6 separate regions of the Homo sapiens genome follow, and regions 1, 2, 3, 5 and 6 are each linked to region 4. The links are contacts of gene promoters, found by promoter capture Hi-C in blood cells and fetal thymus (Javierre and others, 2016). All regions are on one chromosome and are shown on one strand. Each heading gives the region's core, a stretch centred on a gene start or on the middle of the fragment in contact. The rest is flanking DNA. Distances are from core to core; before and after follow the strand shown. Region 1 overlaps EDC3 (enhancer of mRNA decapping 3). Region 2 overlaps C15orf39 (chromosome 15 open reading frame 39). Region 3 overlaps EDC3 (enhancer of mRNA decapping 3). Region 4 holds the start of COX5A (cytochrome c oxidase subunit 5A). Region 5 overlaps UBL7-DT (UBL7 divergent transcript). Region 6 overlaps ARID3B (AT-rich interaction domain 3B).

The links. The method cuts DNA at HindIII sites, captures the fragments that hold promoters and counts their contacts. A CHiCAGO score of 5 or more calls a contact.
Region 1: a contact is called between a fragment that was not itself captured here and the fragment with the promoter of COX5A in region 4, in 9 of 17 cell types (total B cells, total CD4 T cells, naive B cells and 6 more). The highest score is 9.6, in total B cells.
Region 2: a fragment that was not itself captured here is called in contact with the fragment with the promoter of COX5A in region 4 in 3 of 17 cell types (M0 macrophages, total B cells and naive CD4 T cells); the score reaches 5.8 in M0 macrophages.
Region 3: a fragment that was not itself captured here is called in contact with the fragment with the promoter of COX5A in region 4 in 3 of 17 cell types (non-activated CD4 T cells, naive CD8 T cells and M1 macrophages); the score reaches 5.7 in non-activated CD4 T cells.
Region 5: a fragment that was not itself captured here is called in contact with the fragment with the promoter of COX5A in region 4 in 1 of 17 cell types (neutrophils); the score reaches 5.8 in neutrophils.
Region 6: a fragment that was not itself captured here is called in contact with the fragment with the promoter of COX5A in region 4 in 1 of 17 cell types (non-activated CD4 T cells); the score reaches 6.6 in non-activated CD4 T cells.

The regions. Positions count from the first base shown.
Region 1 is chr15:74,630,350-74,634,112 of GRCh38, forward strand. EDC3 (enhancer of mRNA decapping 3) reads right to left here. Exons shown (of 7, transcript NM_025083.5): 7 at 209-2,597. The coding sequence ends at 2,263. Among named protein-coding and RNA genes, the nearest start is that of CLK3, 16 kb to the left of the region's middle. RefSeq lists enhancers at 1,682-1,741, 1,802-1,951. The HindIII fragment of the contact is 1,742 bases long and covers 448-2,189 here.
Region 2 is chr15:75,203,631-75,206,914 of GRCh38, forward strand. C15orf39 (chromosome 15 open reading frame 39) reads left to right here. Exons shown (of 3, transcript NM_015492.5): 2 at 2,369-3,284. The coding sequence starts at 2,419. Among named protein-coding and RNA genes, the nearest start is that of C15orf39, 3.4 kb to the left of the region's middle. The HindIII fragment of the contact is 6,893 bases long and covers 1-3,284 here.
Region 3 is chr15:74,651,831-74,655,234 of GRCh38, forward strand. The region is part of intron 4 of EDC3 (enhancer of mRNA decapping 3); the gene reads right to left. Among named protein-coding and RNA genes, the nearest start is that of CLK3, 38 kb to the left of the region's middle. The HindIII fragment of the contact is 9,021 bases long and covers 1-3,404 here.
Region 4 is chr15:74,936,799-74,940,557 of GRCh38, forward strand. COX5A (cytochrome c oxidase subunit 5A) reads right to left here and starts at 1,275. Exons shown (of 5, transcript NM_004255.4): 1 at 1,117-1,275. The coding sequence starts at 1,216. RefSeq lists a silencer at 969-1,528. The HindIII fragment of the contact is 6,406 bases long and covers 1-3,759 here.
Region 5 is chr15:74,463,390-74,467,072 of GRCh38, forward strand. UBL7-DT (UBL7 divergent transcript) reads left to right here. Exons shown (of 4, transcript NR_120377.1): 2 at 2,647-2,741. Among named protein-coding and RNA genes, the nearest start is that of UBL7-DT, 4.0 kb to the left of the region's middle. The HindIII fragment of the contact is 6,794 bases long and covers 1-3,683 here.
Region 6 is chr15:74,546,989-74,550,539 of GRCh38, forward strand. All of the region lies in intron 2 of ARID3B (AT-rich interaction domain 3B), which reads left to right. Among named protein-coding and RNA genes, the nearest start is that of ARID3B, 7.5 kb to the left of the region's middle. The HindIII fragment of the contact is 739 bases long and covers 910-1,648 here.

The DNA of each region.
Region 1 (3,763 bases), core at 69-2,568, 310 kb before region 4:
GAGAACCTAAGGGAATCAGCCCACCGTGGCTAGCCAGGTGGGGTCTGGTTTTCCACAGCCTGCCAGTCCCATTACTGGCCAGGACTTTAGGCTGTATGTGCCCAACAACTATGGCCTGCTGAGGGCAGGAGACGAGTGGGGCGGGTTCCTAGGCTGGGACAGACAGCACCTCATGACAGCCTACAGAGCAAGTCACACGGCACAGGACTCAGTCAGTCATTCAGCTTTATTTCAGTGCTGGTTTTTGGTTCCCTAAGAGCTGCATGAGTGCTAGGCTTCACCACGTGACTGGGGGCCCCTTGGGAACTGGGTACTATGGGCAGGATGCCCCTGAAAAGAACTGAAGACAGAGGAATCATACTTCTCTTTAATACCTCTGGGGAAGGCCCAGGCTAAGGATGAGGGCAGGGACCAGTCCCAGTGCCCCCTGGGGAGAGAAGAGGGAGAAGCTTGGGCACAAACTCCCAGTGGCCCTGCAAGGCTATCATCCCTGGATCTTGCTGGAGTGGACAGTCTTCTGGGCCAGGGTTGTTCTAGCTTGTTTCTCACTGTACCTAATCAGGGGGCCTAACTGCATTAACAGGCAGCCAGAACCTACCTACCAAAAAGCCTGTAACCTAGACTGCTCCTCAGATTTTGGCCAAGAGAGGGCCCCGGCTTGGGAGCTGCTTGGCCCTGAGAGTGAGCAGAGGCTCAGAGAATACACAGCACAAGGGTTACAGTCCCTGGCCTCTTCCCATCGCTGGAGACAATTTAAGACTGAAGGGAAGATGAGAGGAGGGGCCAGCCCTCTACCCTGGCTCATCTGCTTCTGGCTATGTTCCTACAAGGGAAGTGATAACAGCCTGAAACCCGTGGTACCAGGGCCTACCCTATGTCCACAATCCTTGGTGAGCCCTTCTGTCCACCCATCCACCCGCTCAGCCAGCCTGGGCAGACACAGAGCAGAAGCAGCCTGAAGCCCTGAAGCAGGCTTAAACACAAGTCCTTGACAGGAATCCCTGCCAGGATTCCAGGCATAGATCCTGTTCTACCAGCCTCCAGGGCCTAGAGCTTGGCACCTTAGGATTTGAGCATCAGTGTGTTCCTATGGTTGGAACCCACACCAGCTAGCTCATCCAGAACTAGCCTCATTTTGCCATCTTTGAGACAGGGTGCTGGCCCCAAGCCTACTCATCTAGACTGGACAAATGTAAAAGGTTCAAAGCCCAGATGATGTAAGAGCTGGGGTGGAGCTCAAGCACGGGAGCCCATCTGCCTGCTCTGGGATGACAGCTGCAAAGGACCGTTTCAGGGGAAGGGCAGAGGGGATGAAAGAGTAGGTGGGGCATGTATGTGCGGGCAAAGGGCTGGAGGAGTGGTGGCCTAGGACAGAAGCACCAGGAAGCCTCTTCTGGTTCAGCACCAGGCTCCCCCAGGGATATCCCCATCTGAGGGGTCTGGCCCCAGACTAGGCAAAGGCTCAACCTGCTCAGCTTTGAGGGTGGGGGCGGGCACTGCTGGCAAGATGGGCACTGTGGTTCTACAGTAATATAACCTTATACTACCTGTGCTGAAGACGACAGAACAACATAAAATCCCAATACAGTAACACCATCCTAATGCCGCCCCCTTCCCTACCTCTGAGTGATGGAGGGAAAAGGAGGGAGAGATCCTTGGAAAAATCAGCATAAAACTTGGATCAGCTCAGGAGTAAGGGTCAAAACCCCCCAAATCAACTTGTGGGGCTAGGGGAAGGCCTGGTCTGTCACAGCCCTGGACATGAATGGAGAGTGCAGGTCTGCCCTCTGGTGGACAGCTGCCGTGCAGCTGGTTCTACAGAGGAAGGGCTGTCTGCGTGGGGAAAGCAGGGGAGACACAAAGCCACAAGCTCTGAAATAGAGCAGGTACAGGCCCCCAGACAGGACCTGGCCCACTCTTCAATGTGTGTGCCCAGGCCCAGTGGCTGTAAACCTGAAACACAGTCTTGAGAGCTGCCTACGGCTGTAAACAAAGGCCCACCTGGCCGTGCAGGGGGCTGAGGGTAGAGATGCCTGGAGTTGCTGCACGCTCAGCCTGCCACCCAGCCCGGAACCCAGTGGGAAAGACTTCCCTGGCTAAGAGCAAGTGACAGGTCAGTTTTAAGTAAGTTCTGTTCTCTCACAGAAGAAACAAACCCAAAAGAGAAAAAACTTTAACAAGGTCCATGAAGCTTCATATCCTTAAGGCGTTTGTTATCAGGAGCAGCAGGGGACAGCAGAGTCCTGCCTGCGCAGGAACCCTCTAAGCAGAGTGCAGTGGGATAACAAACTTGCAGCCAAAGGGCGAGTGGTAGTTGATGCCCACCTCCTGGAAGACCTGCTGGGGAATGCCAATGTCGCACAAATAGATACGGCCTGCGTGCTCCCCCAGTGGCAGAGGCAGGCCCAGTGCCAGTGACCATTTGGCATCAATGCCCTGTTCGACTTCATGCACAGGAGGGTCTATGCTGAGTACTGGTGCCCGGTTCTGGTTGGCCCAGGCCACAGCTGCCTTGTACCAGGGTTGATCGCGCAGGAAGACGTTCTCAGGGCAATCCAGGCAGTTGATGACCAGGTCCACAGGGCTAGTGGGCAGATCTGCAGGTGGAAAGAGTGCCATCTGAAAGTCCCTATGAGCAGAGAGCAGCCCAGGCTGGGACTAGGGCCCAGGTCACCCCAAGGGTGTCTTTGTTTTCCAGACACCACTCGAATGCCTCTCCAAAGGCTGGCCTTCTTAAAGCTGGGCCAGGGCACAGGCCCTAGGAGTTGCAAGCTGGCTGGGCTGAGTGCTAGAGACCAAGTGCATGTCAGCCCAGCAGACCACTGCCCTCCTGGAGTTCTCAGGATGAACCATTGTCGTCCTGAGTGTGCAGAGCTTCTCAGGGCACAAAGCCCTCACCTCCTCTGCCTTCTCAGGCATGCCTCTGTATATCCAACTAATGCCCTGGGCACCTTATGACCTCTGGGAAGGCAGAGTCCACTGTCAAGGTGGCCATCACAGGGAAACCCCACTCAGGTCCAGCAAAAACAGGAGCTGACTGCTATCTGCTGACCCAAGAAGGGTGAGCAGGTGAGAGCATGCTTATTCTATTCCAGCTGGCCTACTCATTCTACTCTAGCAAGCCTGTCCCCTCTCGTACTCATTATCTCACAGGAATGGGTCCTCCACTCAGCCCAACCTTAATTAAGAATTAAGAGGGAACCTATTACTATTCTCCCAGGCTCCTCTGCTCTAACCAGGCTTCTGGGACAGTATTAGAAAAGGATGTCTCAACAAGTATGTAGATCCTGTACTGGCCTAAGAAGTTAAACTGAGAATAGCATAAATCAGACCAAACTTAATGGTCGTTGAGACTTGTGTCCTGGAGCAGCTGGGATAGGAAAACTTTTGGGCAGCAAGAGGAAGAACTGCCTGGAAGGGGGCATCATGTTAAAAATTACAAGGGGAACCCACACCAGGCCCCCTTCCCAGCTCTCAGCCTAGAGTATTAGCATTTCTCAGCTAGAGACTCACAACTTCCTTGCTTAGAATGTGCCACCGGGGGGAGTCCCTGTGGGTGATGAGGCTCTCAAGAGTGAGAGTGGCATCCTATCTTCTGTGTGCCCACAGGAGCCTGGCCCGAGACTTAGCAGGTGAAGTTTCTGGTCCAGGCTTTGCCCTTGACTCACTATGTGACCTCTGGTGGAGTCCCTTCTCTGGGCCATATTTGCTCTCTCCAATTCTTCTCCCTGCTGTTCTCATTTAAACCCATTCCAGTCAGACT
Region 2 (3,284 bases), core at 87-2,586, 270 kb after region 4:
AGATAGGGGCCTCAAGAAGTCTCCAGAGCAAAGGGTATTCCATGGGCTGAGACCCAGGAGAGAGGGACTCCTGGGGTGGGGGTGGGGACCCAGCAGACCCCAAGAAGCATGTGGGGGAGGTGAGACCAAAGTCAGTACTTAACCCAGAGTGTCCCAAGGGTGGAGGTGGGGAGGATCCACACTTCAAAACCCTACAGTTCCTTCTCACAGCATTGCTGTGGAGTGAGATGGGGGCTTTCACCCCTCGATAGCAGGTTTCTATCATAGGACACTGCTGTTGGGACTGTCACCTGTGTCCTAATGGCCCCTCTGTGTCTTCTCTAGGCTGGCCTGAGGTGTGGGGTTCTGTCCAGGAGATGAACCAGCTTGCTTTCTGGGTCTGCCTTGGTGGAAGTGGGCATTGGCCCCCACACTAGCCTTGTGTTTTCTAACCCCAAAATGTGCCGGTCTAACTCAGCCTGTGGCTGTCATTGGCTCCAACCAGAAGAGGCAAGGAGAGGGCTGGTCCTTGCTTGCCAGTCACTGAAACCTGTGACACTTTGCCCTAATCATAGCAAGATTGAGCTAGGTGGTCCTTTCTAAGCTACTGAGAGTTTCCAGGAATAGGGTGCTGGCTGGGGGAGGTAGAGGTAGGTCAGTGTGGCCCCAGAAGACAGGCTTCAGATGAGCCCCTAACGGGTTACTGGGTGCCTGCTGCCCTGAGGGGCCTCAGTCCCCATCCTTCCTTGGTCTTGTCTTAGAGCTTTGTCTTTTTTCAGCACATAGTTTTTCCATCAATACAATGGGAGTAGTGGCTAAGTAGCACTCTGGCCCCTGGGGCCTCCCTCCCTGGACTTTTTTCTTTTCTTTTCTTTTCTTTTTTTTTGTTTTGTTTTTTGTTTTTTGTGTTTTTTTGAGGTGGAGTCTCACTCTGCTGCCCAGGCTGGAAGTGCAGTAGCACAATCTTGGCTCACTGCAACCTCTGCCTCCTGAGTTCACGCAATTCTCCTGCCTCAGCCTTCAGCGTAGCTGGGATTACAGGCATGCACAACCATGCCTGGCTAATTTTTTTGTATTTTTAGTAGAGACAGCGTTTCACCATGTTGGTCAGGTTGGTCTTGAACTCCTGACCTCAAATGATCCGCACACCTCGGCTTCCCAAAGTGCTGGGATTACAGGTGTGAGCCACAGCACCTAGCCACCTCCCTGGACTTTCACACACGCCCCTGACGCTGTCTTGGCCCCACCCTGCCATGTGCCTAGGAATCGCCATCTGCAGCTTGGGGGCTGGGGGTGGATCCAGGCTCCTCATGCTCTGGGACCTTCCTGCTGGTGCTGCAGCACCATCTGCTGGGCTGCCCTGACTCCTGCGGAGGGGGAGGAGTGGGGCGAGAGGGGTGTGGCTTGTACAGACTGATGTCCCCAGTTACCTCTCCTAGGGGACTGCTCTCCAGAGCCAAGTCCAGTATCTCAGCATTGGCTTTGGGCCTAGGGACCTGGGCTGGAGGCCCGACTCTGCCATTTTTGACAAGATCAGCAGGTCAGAGGAGTGTCACAAGAAATCTGTGAATTTGTAGACAATACTCAGATTCCATGTTTTGGCTGCAGTGGGCATCACTGTGGCATCTTGGAATAGGACCCTGTGGTGGGAGGCAGGAGGCCTGCTTCTCGTTGTGTCTATTTCATTGGTGACTTTGGGATGAATGGGTCTCCTCATCTGTATATGAGGGGGTGGCGGCAGGGTATGTCAAGTGACCCTGAGACCCAGTGCCCCTACAAATTCTGAAATCCCAAGAAGGAGGGGATCTTGGGAGTTGTATGGAGGAAAATCGAACAGAAGGGGCTCCTGGAGTGGGGATGGGTGGGGGTTCTGTGTAGAATAATTCATTAAACAAAGGGTTCTGCAGCTTAAAATATACGAGTTGGGGTCAGGAGCAGTAGGTGGTTCATGCCTGTGATTTCAGCATTTTGGGAGGCCAAGATGGGAGGATCACATGAGTCCAGGAGTTCAAGACCAGCCTGGGTAACATAGTAAGACCCTGTTTCTACATAAAATACTAAAATGAGCCGGGTGTGGTAGCAGGCACCTGTGGTCCCAGCAACCTGGGAGTTGGGAGAATCACTTGAGCCCAGGAGGTTGAGACTGCGGTGAGCCAAGTTCATGTCATTGCACTCCAGCCCGGGCAACAGAGTGAGACCCTGCCTCAAAAAATACATACACGAGTTGGAAACCTCTGTCACGTGGCTCATGCACTCACAGTCTTAACTGAGCATCATTTAAGCGCCAGGTTCTTAGGTGTAGCCGTGAGCTGATGAGAGCAGCAGCCCTCTGTTGCTTTGCCTGTAGCCTGTTTTCCTGACAGCCCCTGCCTTTCTCTCTCTATCCCAGGTCAGAAGTTGAGTAGCAGGGGCCTAGGAGGGCTCGAAGCCTTCACAGCGATGGCAGAGAAGCGACCCCTGAGAACCCTGGGGCCTGTGATGTATGGCAAGCTGCCCCGCTTAGAGACAGACTCCGGGCTCGAGCACAGCCTGCCCCACTCTGTTGGTAACCAGGATCCCTGCACCTACAAGGGGTCCTACTTCTCCTGCCCCATGGCAGGTACTCCTAAGGCCGAGTCTGAGCAGTTGGCGTCCTGGACCCCATACCCACCCTTGTACTCTACCGGTATGGCAGGACCCCCACTTCAGGCAGACAACCTGCTGACCAACTGCCTGTTCTACCGCTCGCCAGCAGAAGGCCCTGAGAAGATGCAGGACTCCAGCCCTGTTGAGCTCCTGCCCTTCAGTCCCCAGGCTCACTCCTACCCAGGCCCACCACTGGCAGCACCCAAACCTGTCTACCGCAACCCTCTGTGCTATGGGCTCTCAACTTGTCTGGGGGAAGGAGCAGTGAAGAGGCCACTGGATGTTGACTGGACTCTGGCGACTGGGCCCCTGTTGCCCTCAGCTGACCCACCCTGCTCTCTGGCCCCAGCTCCTAGCAAGGGCCAGACTCTGGATGGCACCTTCTTGCGGGGGGTGCCAGCTGAGGGGTCCAGTAAAGACTCCTCAGGGAGCTTCTCCCCATGCCAGCCCTTCCTGGAGAAATATCAGACCATCCACAGCACGGGCTTCCTGGCCTCCAGGTACACAGGTCCTTACCCTAGGAACTCCAAGCAAGCAATGTCTGAGGGGCCCTCAAGTCCTTGGACCCAGCTGGCCCAGCCCCTGGGGCCACCCTGTCAGGACACCGGGCCCACCCACTACCCACCACCCCACCACCCACCACCCCACCCTCCACAGGCCCTGCCTTGCCCTCCAGCCTG
Region 3 (3,404 bases), core at 57-2,556, 280 kb before region 4:
AAAATATCTAAGTTGAAAATGCATTTAATACACCTAACCTACCAAACAAACATCATAGTTCAGCCTAGCCTACCTTAAACCTGCTCAGAACACTTACACTAGCCTACAGTTGGGCAAAATCATCTGGCAAAACAGTACACTGTAGAATACTGGTTGTTTACTCTCATGACTGCACGGCTGACTGCTTTGACTCCTGCTGCTGCCCAGCATTAGAGAATATCATACCTGCATATCGCTAGCTCAGGAAAAGATCTAAATTAATAATTTCAACTACAGTTTCTACTGACTATTGCTTTCACATCATCCTAGAATCAAAAAATGATAAGTCTAACCATTGTAAGTTGGAGGATCATCTGTAGTCTATTTGCCATTAAACTGCCCTTCTCTTCTTATATTTTTCCTTTTTTTTTTTTTTGAGACAGAGTCTCGCTCTGTCACCCAGGCTGGAGTGCAGTGCTGCGATCTCCGCTCACTGCAAGCTCCGCCTCCCAGGTTCACGCCATTCTCCCGCCTCAGCCTCCCAAGTAGCTGGGACTACAGGCGCCCACCACCATGCCCGGCTCATTTTTTTGTATTTTTAGTAGAGACGGGGTTTCACCGTGTTAGCCAGGATGGTCTCCATCTCCTGACCTCGTGATCCACACGCCTCAGCCCCCCAAAGTGCTGGGATTACAGGCATGAGCCACTGCGCCTGGCCTTTTCCTCATTTTTATTCACATTTAGAAGAGAAAAGGAGATGTGATGGGTAAGGTTTTTGTGTTTTTTTTTTGAGACAGGGTCTGACTCTGTCACCCAGGCTGGAGTACAGTGGCATGACTTTGGCTCATTGCAGCCGCAACCTCATGGGCTCAGACGCTCCTACTTCAGCCTCCTGAGTAGCTGGGACTACAGGCACATGCCACCGTGCCCAGCTAATGTTTTCTATTGTTTGTAGAGACAGGGTCTCACTTTGTTGCCCAGGCTGGTCTTGAACTCCTGAGTTCAAGCAATCCTCCCACCTTGGCCTCCCGAAGTGCTGGGATTACAGGCATGAGTCACTGCACCTGGCCAATGGAAAACCCTTTACCAGCTGGGCGTGGTGGCTGACGCCTGTAATCCCAGCACTTTGGGAGGCCAAGGCAGGCAGATCACTTGAGGCCAGGAGTTTGAGACCAGCCTGGCCAACACGGTGAAACCTCGTCTCTACTAAACATACAAAAATTAGCCAGGCATGGTGGCAGGTGCCTGTAATCCCAGCTACTCAGGAGGCTGAGGCAGGAGAATCGCTTGAACCTGGGAGGTAGAGGTTGCGGTGCGCTGAGAGCTGAGATCACGCCACTGCACTGCAGCCTGGATGACAAAACAAGACTCTGTCTCCAAAAAAAAAAAAAAAACCTTTACCTCTCTGGGCCTCATGTCCTCATCTGTAAAATGAAAAAATCATACTAGGTGATCAACTAACCTAACACTAACATTTTATGCTTTTAGACTGTTTCCCTATATATTCTAGTTTGCCTTTTTTGATCCAAACATTTGGATAGCAGATCCAATGGAGAAAGTGTCCCCAGCTCTGCACTGACTGCCCCTCAGTGAAAACCTGCTTGAGGATTGTGCCTTGGAACTCGAACACAGAGAAAACCCCCCTGTAGAAGAAGTTGCTCAGTAAGATAACTGCCTGCTTGCTCTATTTCCAGCACAGACGCTGCTTGGCAAAAGGGCTTCCTTTCCACTCCTTGTCACTGTTAAGAACAAAGAGAAAAACCAGATGGCATGAAGCTGCTGGGCTTCTTTCCCCCTCATTGTCATGAACCAGTGGAGTGCAACTGGTCACTACATACCACAAGACGCCACACCCAAGTTTCTGGCTAAGGACCAGCACATGTGGTTTGTGGTATGTTTATTGATAGGAAAATAATTTTATATGACAGAACTTTTCACTTCAGTCATTAAAAACAAAAGAAGTGTGAAGATCAAGTTGGGGAGCCAGAGTGTGTAGCAGAAAAAAATTTCTACCTCTGCTTTTGTCCATGTTAGTAAATATTTTCTCATGCTCTGTTAGTTCTGAGAATTCTCCCTGATTCTCACTGTTATTCTCACTCTTAGCCACTTGACTCCAGGGCAGATCATAATCTTCCCAAGTTAAAAAAATCCTGCAGTGTAGGGCTGGGCGCGGTGGCTCACACCTGTAATCCCAGCGCTTTGGGAGGCCAAAGCAGGTGGATCACGAGGTCAGGAGTTCAAGACCAGCCTGGCCAACATAGTGAAACCCCATCTCTACTAAAAATACAAAAAAATTAGCCAGGCATGGTGGTGTGTACCTGTAGTCCCAGCTACTCAGGAGGCTGAGGCAGGAGAATCGCTTGAACCCAGGAGGTGGAGGTTGGCAGTGAGCAGAGATTGCGCCATTGCACTCCAGCTTGGGCAACAGAGTGAGACTTCGTCTCAAAAAAAAAAAAAAAAAATCCTGCAGTGTAAATAGTTCCAGGGAAATCACACGCTGCATAAACCAACAGCCTCAGCAGCAGCACTTGGACTACAGATATAGAGAGCTAGCAGCAGGAGCAGCTTCTTTTACAAAGAGGGCAGTAAAAAAGGAAGCAGTCAGAGGTAGATAGTTGGCTGATCTGGAGGAGTACCAGACTTAACAGATGATAACTGCCTTTGAAAGGCTTAAAACCTAGCAATTTAAATTAAACCCGATTCTGAGCTAGGCTGTTTGCCTTTACACAGGTGTTAAAAATCGAAGGACTTCGGCAAGTTACAGTGTCACTGTCACTGCCACTTAAGGAAACCACCTTAATAAACAGGCATGCCTACCAGAATCTGCCAGCAAAAGACTGACACAGTTCAGCAGCTTGTTTTTTTTTTAGCAGTCTTTCTTAGCCTGACAGTTGGCCTATTTTTTTTTTTCACATGGAAAGCACATGCAAGCTACTATACTCAGCGAAACCAAATACAACAGAGTCCTACTATTATCTATAAAAAAAAAGCCATGTCTGGCTTTCCTCCAAATGCAATTAGCTGCGTCCACAGTTCTCCTTATAGCAGCTACCAGCATTCAAGATTTATATTCCTTATATTCCAAACTTCAAACCAAAATAAAAATATTATACTCAATTCCTTCTCTACTTACTAAAATGATTATGACTTCCCCTTTAGCTCTTAGGATCATTCAATAACAATGGTTTTCAAACCATATTCCAAGAGGCCCAGTTAGTAATGTGGTTTGAGGGGAAGGGATGGGACACGGATGTGATGAATTACCTCTCTCACACTGCTTTAATCTGTTTTATATGCCATAGGTTTGAAGAAAAGGTTCTAATGCTAAAAAAAGAAACAATAATCACTGAGGTAATAGAACTAGATTATCATCTACAATGACCTACATAAGGCACTACACTGTTACATGAAATTAGCCAACTTTC
Region 4 (3,759 bases), core at 25-2,524:
TTGTATTTTTAGTACAGACAGGGTTTCACCATGTTGGCCAGGCTGGTCTTGAACTCCTGACCTCAGGTGATCCGCCCGCCTCGGCCTACCAAAGTGCTGGGATTACAGGCATGAGCCACCGCGCCCGGCTGAGTTCTTTTTTTAATTTTTAACTTCAGCATACCCTGAAACGAGTTTCTGAGTTCTTATGTTTAAATACGCATGCATAGTTGCCAGTGATGCAGGTTCAAAAATAAAATATAATATGCATGCATAGAAGCTAAATTTCACGGACCAAGATCGAAGTGCAATTACTGTAATTATTCTATGGTGGTGGACTCAAAACCTCCCAGCACACATATAAAGGGAAGGAAAATAGACAAAAATCAGAAGCACGTCTCATACTCCAGCAATCAGGCTTCTATTACAAAGGGGAAAAAACACGAAGCGTTCCTATGCTTGTAAAACCCAGTATTCCTGTGTCTGTGACATTCAGTTTTCAAAAGAGTGATATTTTTATCATAAGCCCTATCAAAACTCTGGCTATCTTCCGGAGATCAGGAAACAACCACACACTTCCATCTATTTTAAACGTGGAAGAATTAGAACGTGGCACAGCAGACCCTAAAAATGATGGAAAAGGCTGTGAAGGTGACACACTAATCGCTAACCGAGAAATGCCTGATTGAAAAGTATAATCGTGTGTCCCATACGGAAGTATATTGTGTCCTCGGACCCCAAGCGGCGTGCCCGGAGGCTCAATGTCACCTTCGCCGAGGCGCTGCAGGCCGGCGGCGGCCACTCTCGGTCAGGTGGCCGCAGGGTCGGCGCTGGGGCAGGGTCATGGCCCGGGAACCGAAGGGGAGCGCTGCGTCCCCTCCTCGGCGCCCACAGCAGGTCCACATCTGACCTGTCCGCGGTGGCACAGCCAGGAAGTTGCGCGGGGGGAGGCCCCGGGGGCGCGCTTTCAGGTCCTCCACTACTCGAGGCGGCGGGCAGGGCGGCCCGCGGTCACCGGGTTCAGTAACCAGGGTAGGGCAAGGGCTAGGCCGGGGAGAGCCCGCCCCGGAGTGGCAGCGGGGACCCAGGTCACCGCAAGGACACGAGGGCGCGGGCAGTGGCAAGCAGGGGCCTTACCCACGGCGGGGCCGGGGGTCCGGGCGGAGTGCAGGAGGCCTCGAGGGTCGGCCCGGGTGGTTGCGGCCACAGCGCAGCGGCGGAGAGCGGCGCCCAGCATGACGGCGATGGCGGCGCGCGGGCTGAGGACAGAGAGAAGCCGGTGTAAGCTCGCGGGTTGCTCCGGAGCGGGCGGGGGCCGGACAGGCTCACAGCGGGCGGAGCACGTAGGCCCGCCCACTGCGACTCTGGCGCGTGGGCGGGAGGAGCCACCGCGCGGCCGGCGGCGGCGGGGGCTACGGCGGCGCGCTGAGGACAAACTGTTAGCCTCGCGTCCCGCCTTGTCTCTGGTCAGGTGACGTGCAGCTGCCATCCTGTAAGTAGGAATGGAGGCGAGGGAGGAGCAACCGACCGTGATCTTGTTCGAGTCAGGCCCAGGAGGGCACTTAATCACCTCAAAATAGGAATGACAGCAATAACAACAAACTATAATAAAAAATACGTACTTTGCGCCCGGGCGCTGTGGCTCATGCCTGTAATCCCAGCACTTTTGGGAGGCCGAGGCGGGCGGATCACCTGCGGTCGGGAGTTCAAGACCAGCCTGGGCAACATGGAGGAACCCCCGTCTCTACTAAAAATACAAAATTAGCCAGGCGTGGTGGCGCAACGCATGCCCGCAATCCCAGCTACTCGGGAGGCTGAGGCAGGAGAATCGCTTGAACCCAGGAGGAGGAGGTTGCGGTGAGCCGAGATGGTGCCATTGCACTCCAGCCTGGGCAACAAGAGCGAAACTCCGTCTCAAAAAAACCAAACAAAACAAAAACCTACTTTGCTTAGCCCCGCCTTCTCATTGTGGCATAAAATAAAACAGCGAATGGGGGAAAGAATGCCGCTGGACGCGGTTGCTCACGCCTGTAATCCTAGCACTTTGGGAGCCCAAGGCGGGCGGATCACCTGAGGTCGGGAGTTCGAGACCAGCCTGACCAACATGGAGAAACCCCTGTCTCTACTAAAAATGCAAAATTAGCCAGGTGTGGTGGCGCATGCCTGTAATCCCAGCTATTTGGGAGGCTGAGGCAGGAGAATTGCTGGAACCCAGGAGGCAGAGGTTGCAGTGAGTTGAGATCGCACCATTGCACTCCAGCCTGGGCAACAAGATCAAAACTCCATCTCAAAAAAAAAAAAGGCCTATGCGTAAGGGATTTTATTAGTACATATTCTTATATCACAAACCAGCTTGCATAAAAAATGAGTTAAACTACTTCATTTCACAGATTAGGAAAGAGGCTCAGAAATTAGGTTGCTGCTGGCAGTCAAGGATCTTTTCGCCACATCCCCAGTTCTGAGGACTCTCACCTGAATGTTTCCCATCTCCTACAGGAGGGCTCCTGAATCCACGATGGCTCTGAAATAGGGTTGATCAAGTTCCACAGTTGTTGCATCTTATCTCACTAGCTACATCCTAACTTTGAGCCCCTGGGCAGTCAAGGACACCTCTCCCAGGCCTGAAGTATCTGGATGCTGCCCAGAGTTAATGAGACATTGTATTCTGTCTTGCTGTCTCCCATTCTCTATCCCTGGGCACACTGAGGAAAGAAAAGGTGGCCATTCATGTGCCACTTCCTCACTTCAGGCCGACTCTCCAGGGCCTCAGCATCTGCCCTTCTCTTTTTCCTCCCTAGCAGTGTGGCTTCAGTGGGTAGGAACCTGGCGGGGAAAAGGATTTTTAAAATGTTTTCAAAGCACCTGCCCTCACCGTTTCCCACCAACCTAGTGCTGGGGCTTAGAAAACAATACCACAAAGTGAAGGCCTATGAAGCAGTTTCTCTCTGACCTTCTGCCCTCTTGTCTCTTGCCCCTTACTCTCCCTCCAGGCATGCCACAGAAACTAGAATCCCTCCTCCCCAAGAGGGGGTCTAGAAAGTAGAACCCCTTTGTCCCAAAGCCAGCCATAAAGCCTAAAAATATTGCTCTAACCTTTCTCTTTGCCTTTCTATGTAACAGCTGGCCATAAAGAAATTAAGGCCGAGCACGGTGGTTCACGCCTGTAATCCTAGCACTTTGAGCCGCCAAGGCCAGGAGATCACTTGAGGTCAGGAGTTTGAGACCAGCCTGGCCAACATGGTGAAACCCCATCTCTATTAAAATTACTAACATTAGCCAGAAATCACTTGAACCCAGGAGGTGGAGGTTGCGGTGAGGCGAGATCACACCACTGCACTCCAGCCTGGGTGACAGAGCTAGACTCCGTCTCAAAAATAAAATTTTTTAAAAAAAAGGAGAAAAGGAAACATGGCCAGGTATGGTGGCTCATGCCTGTAATCCCAGCACTTTGGGAGGCTGAGGTGGGAAGATCACCTGAGGTCGGGAGTTCGAGACCATCCTGGCCAACATGGTGAAACCCCGTCTCTACGAAAAATACAAAAATTAGCTGGGTGTGGTGGCGCACGCTACTCTGGAGCCTGAGGCAGGAGAATCACTTGGGCCCGCGAGGTGGAGGTTGCAGTGAGCCGAGATCGCACAACTGTACTCCAGCCTGGGTGACAGAGTGCGACTCCGTCTCAAAAAAAGAAAAAAAGAAGTTAAGGCTGGGCGCGATGGCTCATGCCTATAATCCCAGCAATTTGGGAGGCTGAGGTGGGGGGATCACCTGAGGTCTGGAGT
Region 5 (3,683 bases), core at 510-3,009, 470 kb before region 4:
TGAAATAATTTCAAGTTTACAGTACAGTTGCAAAAATATTACAAAATAATGCCCTCATACCCTTAACCCAAAGTCCCCAGTTGTTAATAGTTTACATTTACCTCATCATTCTTTCTCTCTCACTCTCTCACTATGCATATTGTTCTTTTGTTTTTCCACCCGATCCGTTTAAGAGCCAATTACAGACATTACCCAAAGTATTTCTGTATTTCCTGAAAACAAGGATATATTCTATGTCACAGCCACAGTACAACCCAGCAAAATCAAGAAATTAATAAATACAATAATACCATGTAACTTACAATCTCATTCAGCTTTCATCAACCATTCCAGTTGGGTGGAGGCTGATCATCTCTCTGCCATTTTCATAAGTTATGTCATAGATTTTCACATCTGTCACATCATTCATTTCTCCAAAGAGCCTTAGTTCCTTTTAGTAAGGAATGGTATTTAGAAGCCAAGTTTGGATGCTAGGTGTGTTTATTGCTACTGAGATGTCATTATTTCCAGTCTATTTCAGTGACTAGACCTAGCAAATAAATGAATATTGATATACACACCCATTCATCTATATTTCTATGAAATATATTTAAATATGTGTGCATATAGATGTGTATATGTATATATAGATCTATGTATATGTGAGCATATATATGTGCACATATATCAAAATATATATGTATATATAAAATATGAGTTCACACCAATACCTCAAATTCCAATCCAATACCACATATTTTCCTCTAGTCTTCCTCTTCTCTATAATTTTACCTCCCTTCTGCAATAGTAGGAAACTTGATTCTCATTTTCCACAATATACTTGTATTTTCTCATGTTGACATTCATGGTACCTGATATGGTTTGGCTCTGTGTCCCCACCCAAATCTCATGTTGAATTGTAATCCTCAATGTTGGAGGAGGGGCCTGGTGGGAGGTCATGATGTTTGGATCATGGGGCAGACTTCCCCCTTGCTGTTCTCATGACAGTGAGTTCTCAAGAGATCTGGTTGTTCAAAAGTGTGTAGCACTTCCCCCTTTGCCCTCTCTCTCCTGCTCTGCCATGTGAAGATGTGCTTGCTTCCCCTTCACGTTCTGCCATGATTGTATGTTTCCTGTGGCTTCCCCAGCCATGCTTCCTGTATAGCCTGCAGAACTGTGCGTCAATTAAAGCACTTTTCTTTATAAATCACCTGGTCTCAGGTAGTTCTTTATAGCAGTGCAAGAACAGACTAATACAGTACCATAACAATGGAGCCTCCTCTTCAACTTGATTCTTGAGTCCTTTTGACATAACCCTGGAGGTTTTTGATAGCTCCCTGCTATCTAGCATGACAAGAGTTCCTAGCTAATCTTGTACTTCCTGCCCTAGGCATAAAAATTAGCCATTTCTTCAAGAAATTCATATGGTTTTCTGTGGGAAATGGTATATTAAGACCACAATCTGGGCACTAGGGATGCTTATTGCTACTGAATTGTTTGTTACTTGTAAGCCACATTAGTGGATGGAGCTAGGGGGAGATCTATATCCATAGAGATATAAATAGAGAATATTTATACTGCTACTTCAAATTCAAGACTACAGAGGTTGGGTTTGGTTTTGGCTTTTGGTTTTATGGGTTGCTTTTTGTTTTGTTTTTTTTGAGACAGGATCTCCCTCTGTTGCCCAGGCTGGAGTACAGAGGTGCAATCATGACTCACTGCTGCCTCAAACTCCCAGGCTCAAGCGATTCTCCCACCTCAGCCTGCCAAGTAGCTGGGACTACAGTTGTGCACCACCATGCCCAGCTAATTTGTGTATTTTCTGTGGAGGCAGGGTTTCACCATGTTGCCCAGGCCGGTCTTGAATTACTGGACTCAAGCAATCTGCCCACCTCAGCCTCCCAAAGTAAGACTGCAGAATTTTAATTTAATATTTTCTATATTACATCTTTATTTCCTTTCTTCCACACTGAGAATACTAGTTCTCAAGAACATAAGGGACAACAGTATTTAAATATCTATTTTCATTTCCTTTATCCCATATCACATACCCAACTGTCTCAAAATAACAATACTAATGATACTATCACCACCAATATAATTATTGAGACGTTTAAAAAAATGTTTGCATATGCCCTTCTCATTCTATCCCCTCCATTCATTCTCTCCATTTTAACAGATGTGCTGTATATTATCTGAGCCTATACTCATTACTCTACCTTCCTCTTTTTAACTCTCTTAATACTACAAAGAATTCCATGTTTAGGCCAGGTGCGGCAGCGCACACCTGTAATCCCAGCACTTTGGGAGGCTGAGACAGGCAGATCACCTGAGGTCAGGAGTTTGAGACCAGCCTGGCCAACATAGTGAAACCCTTCTCTACTAAAAATACAAAAATTAGTGGGGGTGTGCTGGCGGGCACTGTAATCTCAGCTACTTGGGAGCTTGAGGCAGGAGAATTGCTTGAACCCAGGAAGTGGAGGTTGCAGTGAGCCGAGATCACACCATTGCACTCCAGCCTGGGCGACAAGAGTGAAACTCCATCTCAAAAATAAATAAATAAATAAAATCAGAATTCCATGTTTAATGCTTTCCACTGGTTTTTGTTGCTGTTGTTGTTGTTGTTTTGTTTTGTTTTCTGACACAGAGTCTCACTGTATCACCCAGGCTGAAGTACATTGGTGCAATCTTGGCTCACTGCATCTCCACCCCAGGTTCAAGCGATTCTCCTGCCTCAGCCTCCCAAGCAGCTGGGATTACAGGTATGTAGCACAATGCCCGGCTAATTTTTGTATTTTTAATAGAGACAGAGTTTCACCGTGTTGGCTAGGCTGGTCTCAAACTCCTGGCCTCAAGTGATTCACCCGCCTTGGCCTCCCAAAATGTTGGGATTACAAGCATGAGCCACTGTGCCTGGCCCAGTGGTTTTTATTACTGAACCCGTTCTTTAGTGGATTTCCTGGAAGGACTACAATATTCTCTGTGAATGATATTCCCTAAACTTTTGCATATTAATAGCAGTTTATTTCTGGCCTTTATGCTTGAAAATCAGTTTGCTAAATATAAAATTGTTGGCTCACATTTTCTTTCTTAAGATATTTCATTTTCATCTGATGACAGAAATCTAATTTTCTTTCCCTTACAAGTTACTTGCTCTTTTCACCAGGTTGCCCAAGTAGTTTTTAAAATTTTTTGTTTAATTTCCAGTCATTTTACCTGACTACATCTTGGTGCTGTTTGTTTTAGGTCAGTAGTCTCAGTTATGTGGTATTCTCTTCCAAAATGTAATTTATATTTTTTTTATTTCAGTAAAGATTGATTTTTGAATTACAGGTTTTAGAATAGTTCCGTTCTCTTGCCTTGGTTTGGTTCTTAAGAGGACTCATGTTAGCCATATGTTGTATCTTTGTTGTTTCTCTTCAATATCTGCCACTTTTCTCAAATCTTTTCTCTTTCTTCATTTTTAAAAATATTTTTTAAATGTTCCTCCTTTCTACATTCTACTTAAGGCATCATCTGTTGTATTTATTTCTTCTGTGTTCCTTTTGCTTTAGTCTTCATTTTGTATTTATTTTTTATTTTTTATTTTTTGAGACAGAATTTCGCTCTGTCGCCCAGGCTGAAGTGCAGTTGCGTGATCTCTGCTCACCACAACCTCCACCTCCCGGGTTCAAGCAATTCTCCTGCCTCAGCCTCCCAAGTAG
Region 6 (3,551 bases), core at 29-2,528, 390 kb before region 4:
ATAATATTCTTGGGGAGAGCCTATAGAAACCATTACAGATCATTAGACTAGCTTGTTTTGTTGTTCAAAATCTTTACTTTATGAAACTTAATGGAGTGCAAAAATAGAATATCCCTTGCTCCAGCAACAATTACAAAGACCTTTACAATTGACACAGATCTTTCCCCCCCGCCTTCCCCCTCCCCCGCCGACACAGAGCGCACTCTGTTGCCCAGGCTGGAGTGCAGTGGCGCGATCTCGGCTTCCTGCAACCTCCGCCTCCTGAGTTCAAGTGATTTTCGTGCCTCACCCTCCCTAGCAGCTGAGATTACAGGCATATGCTACCATGCCTGGCTAATTTATTTTTTTATTTTTATTTATTTTTTTGTATTTTTAGTAGAGACAGGGTTTCGTCATGTTGGCCAGGCTGGTCTCAAACTCCTGACCTCAAGTGATCCGCCCGTCCTGGCCTCCCAAAGTGCTGGGATTACAGGCGTGAGCCACCGCGCCTACCCTGACACAGATCTTATTGTTAATGTGATACAGTGTCCATCTTGTTCTTTTGAACAACAAACTTTTACAGAGGCTTCTTTGTGCCAGACCTGTGCTGTATGAAACAAGGCATGTTTCTCTCTCAGGGAGTTCAGGTCTAGCGGTGGCAGTGTGGGAACCTCAAGGGGGATTCGAACTTGGGTTACAATAATTTGATTCTGTCCTGAGTCTACTGGAGCCCAGCCACCCAGTCTGCTATGGCAGAGATATTTTAAAACAGAGTTTTGTTTCAAACATTCACATGCCAAAGTTTAAAAAGTTAATTTTGTCTACAGCATAGCATAGCTTGGCAAACCAACAGGAATACTCAGAAGTATTTTGCAAGATTTTGGGGTAAGGGAGGACAGGCATCTGCTAACTGAAAAGTGAAACTGGGAAAGCTTAAGGGTTCCAGAGATTATTCTTTGCATCTGAAATCCCTTACTTAGAACATGTAAAGTCAAAATTATTTCGTGGATTCTCTTTGAAGAAACTCTTAGAAAATATTTGCTTCTCAAGGCCTGGATTGTTAAGGTGTGGTATTATTCTCTGACACCACAGTGATGGGAAGATGGATAACGCCATTGAGCCAAGTGTTCTAAAACCCATCAGATTCCTATGGGCAGAGTAAATAATTGTAAAACAAGAAAACAGACAAAGAACTGAGTGTTCCTTTTCTCAAAGGAGATCATACAGCCAACTAGGGGATGTTGCTGGCCTTTTGGGGGTGGTGTTCTCCCCCTCTGGTAGAAGGTGGTTCAAGCAGTACAGGCTGGGTCTGTCTTGAGCCCATTGGTAGAGCTAGGTTACTAGAAGGGTGTAGACCCCCTTCGATAGAATAGAAAGAAGAAAGATGGCTTGGCAGGCATGTGGGGCCAGGGTGCATGTGTCCGATTTTCTGCATACTTTGGCAGTCGCTTTGGTTACTGCATGTGGCTGTGATCCAACCACGGGCTTAACATACTTTCACAGCCAATTCAGTTGAAAGCACTGGGAGCCATTGCACAATAAATGTTGGCCCCCTCCTCTACCCTTCCCCTTCTAGCATGTTTTACAAGATTTTGTTTTGTGACTGCCTTCTAGGATGGAAGGGTTTAATTTCAGAATATTTGCAATTAAAGAATTCCTAACGTCCTAAAGCTTGCTAATCACATGTGTTAACAAGGACAGGGTATTACCAATTTCAAACACCTCCAAGCCGCTTGGGGCACCCTCAGCTCATGACAGCGTGGGTTCTCTCTGAATTTGTTGGAGAAGCACTTCTGCAGTACAGAAGCAAAGGAAGCTCCATGACAAATGGGAAGAATTGCCATGTTAGATGGGCACTGGGAGAGACAAAGGGAATGTGATTTGAGAAGAGGGAGTTTCGTGTTTGTTTTTGTTTTTTTGGGGTTTTTTTTGCCTATTCTTAACCATGAGCAAAATCAATCTCATCTTACCGTGAGAGTCGACTTCCTGCTGGGCAATTAGTGGAGACTACTGTCCATTTCTTCTAATGCCATGACTGACTGACTGGTGTCCAGAAGCCATCCCTCTAATTAAGGTGTAGTCCCTTGGGATAGGCCTACTTTTCTTTCTTTTTTTTTCTTTTTTTTTAGACGGTGTCTCGCTGTCACTCAGGCTAGAGTGCAGTGGCATGATCTCGGCTCACTGCAGGCTCCACCCCCCGGGGTTCACGCCATTCTCCTGCCTCAGCCTCCTGAGTAGCTGGGACTACAGGTGCCCGCCACCACGCCCGGCTAATTTTTTTGTATTTTTAGTAGAGACGGGGTTTCACCGTGTTAGCCAGGATGGTCTCGATCTCCTGACCTCGTGATCCGTCCGCCTCGGCCTCCCAAAGTGCTGGGATTACAGGCGTGAGCCACTGCGCCCGGCCGGGATAGGCCTACTTTTCTTGGTAGATACTGCATGACTATCATTAGCTGGGTGTGGTGGCACACGCCTGTAGTCCCAACTACTTCGGCAGGCTGAGGCAGGAAAATCACTTGAACCTGGGAGGCGAAGGTTGCAGTGAGTCGATATCATGCCACTTGCACTCCAGTTTGGATGACAGAGTGAGATGGTGTAAAAAAAAAAAAAAAGGGAAAAAGAAAAGATACAGCATGACTATGGAACATTTGAGGCTTTTTTAAAAAACTGTGCAAAGTATTGCCCAAAAAAGAAAATGTTCGTAGGCTTTCCTCATGTTCTTTATAGAGCTACCTTGCATGCCCTTGCCTTCTGCAGTCACAATGGAATCCATCTAGTTGAGTGGTTCTCAATTAGAGGTGACCCCTGCCCCTTCCCAGGGGACATTTGGCAGTGTCAGGAGACATTTTTGATTGCCATGACTGGAGTAGGGGGCAGTGTGCTATGGGCGTCTAGTGGGTAGACCAGGGATGCTGCTAAACATCCTATAACGCACTGGACAGCCCCCCAACAGCAAAGAGTTATCTGGTCCAAAATAACAGTAGTGCCAAGGTTGAGAAACCGTGCTCTAGATTGTGCAACCAGAAAGAACATAAGCTTCGCTATCATCAGACAGCACCAGAGACTCTTTTCCTTTGTGTTTCAGTCTCAGTAACTGAGGAGTTTGGCAGCCTTGAATTTTCTTGACTTCTGCTTTCAATATCTGTACCGAGCTCATGTCTTTCCTCTAGTCATCTAGGTGAACAGACTGTCACTTGGGAAAGGTTTGGGGCCTAGAACTTGAGATCTCTTACTTGACTCTATCAGTGATTCTTTCAGCCCAGCACTCCATGATATCTTTGATATCTTTGGTGATATATGAGAGAGCTTGGTTGCCCTTGTAGACATTAACCCCAAAAGGTTAAAGTGTAAATACTTGGCAGACTTGTTACCTAGTAACAGATTTAATTATTAAATCAGCATTGGTTTTGGAGCCAGAGGATGTGGATTAAGACCCTACTTCCCGCCAGGCGCAGTGGCTCACACCTGTAATCCCAGCACTTTGGGAGGCGGAGGCAGGCGGATCACGAGGTCAGGAGATCAAGACCATCTTGACTAACACAGTGAAACATCATCTCCGTCTCTACTAAAAA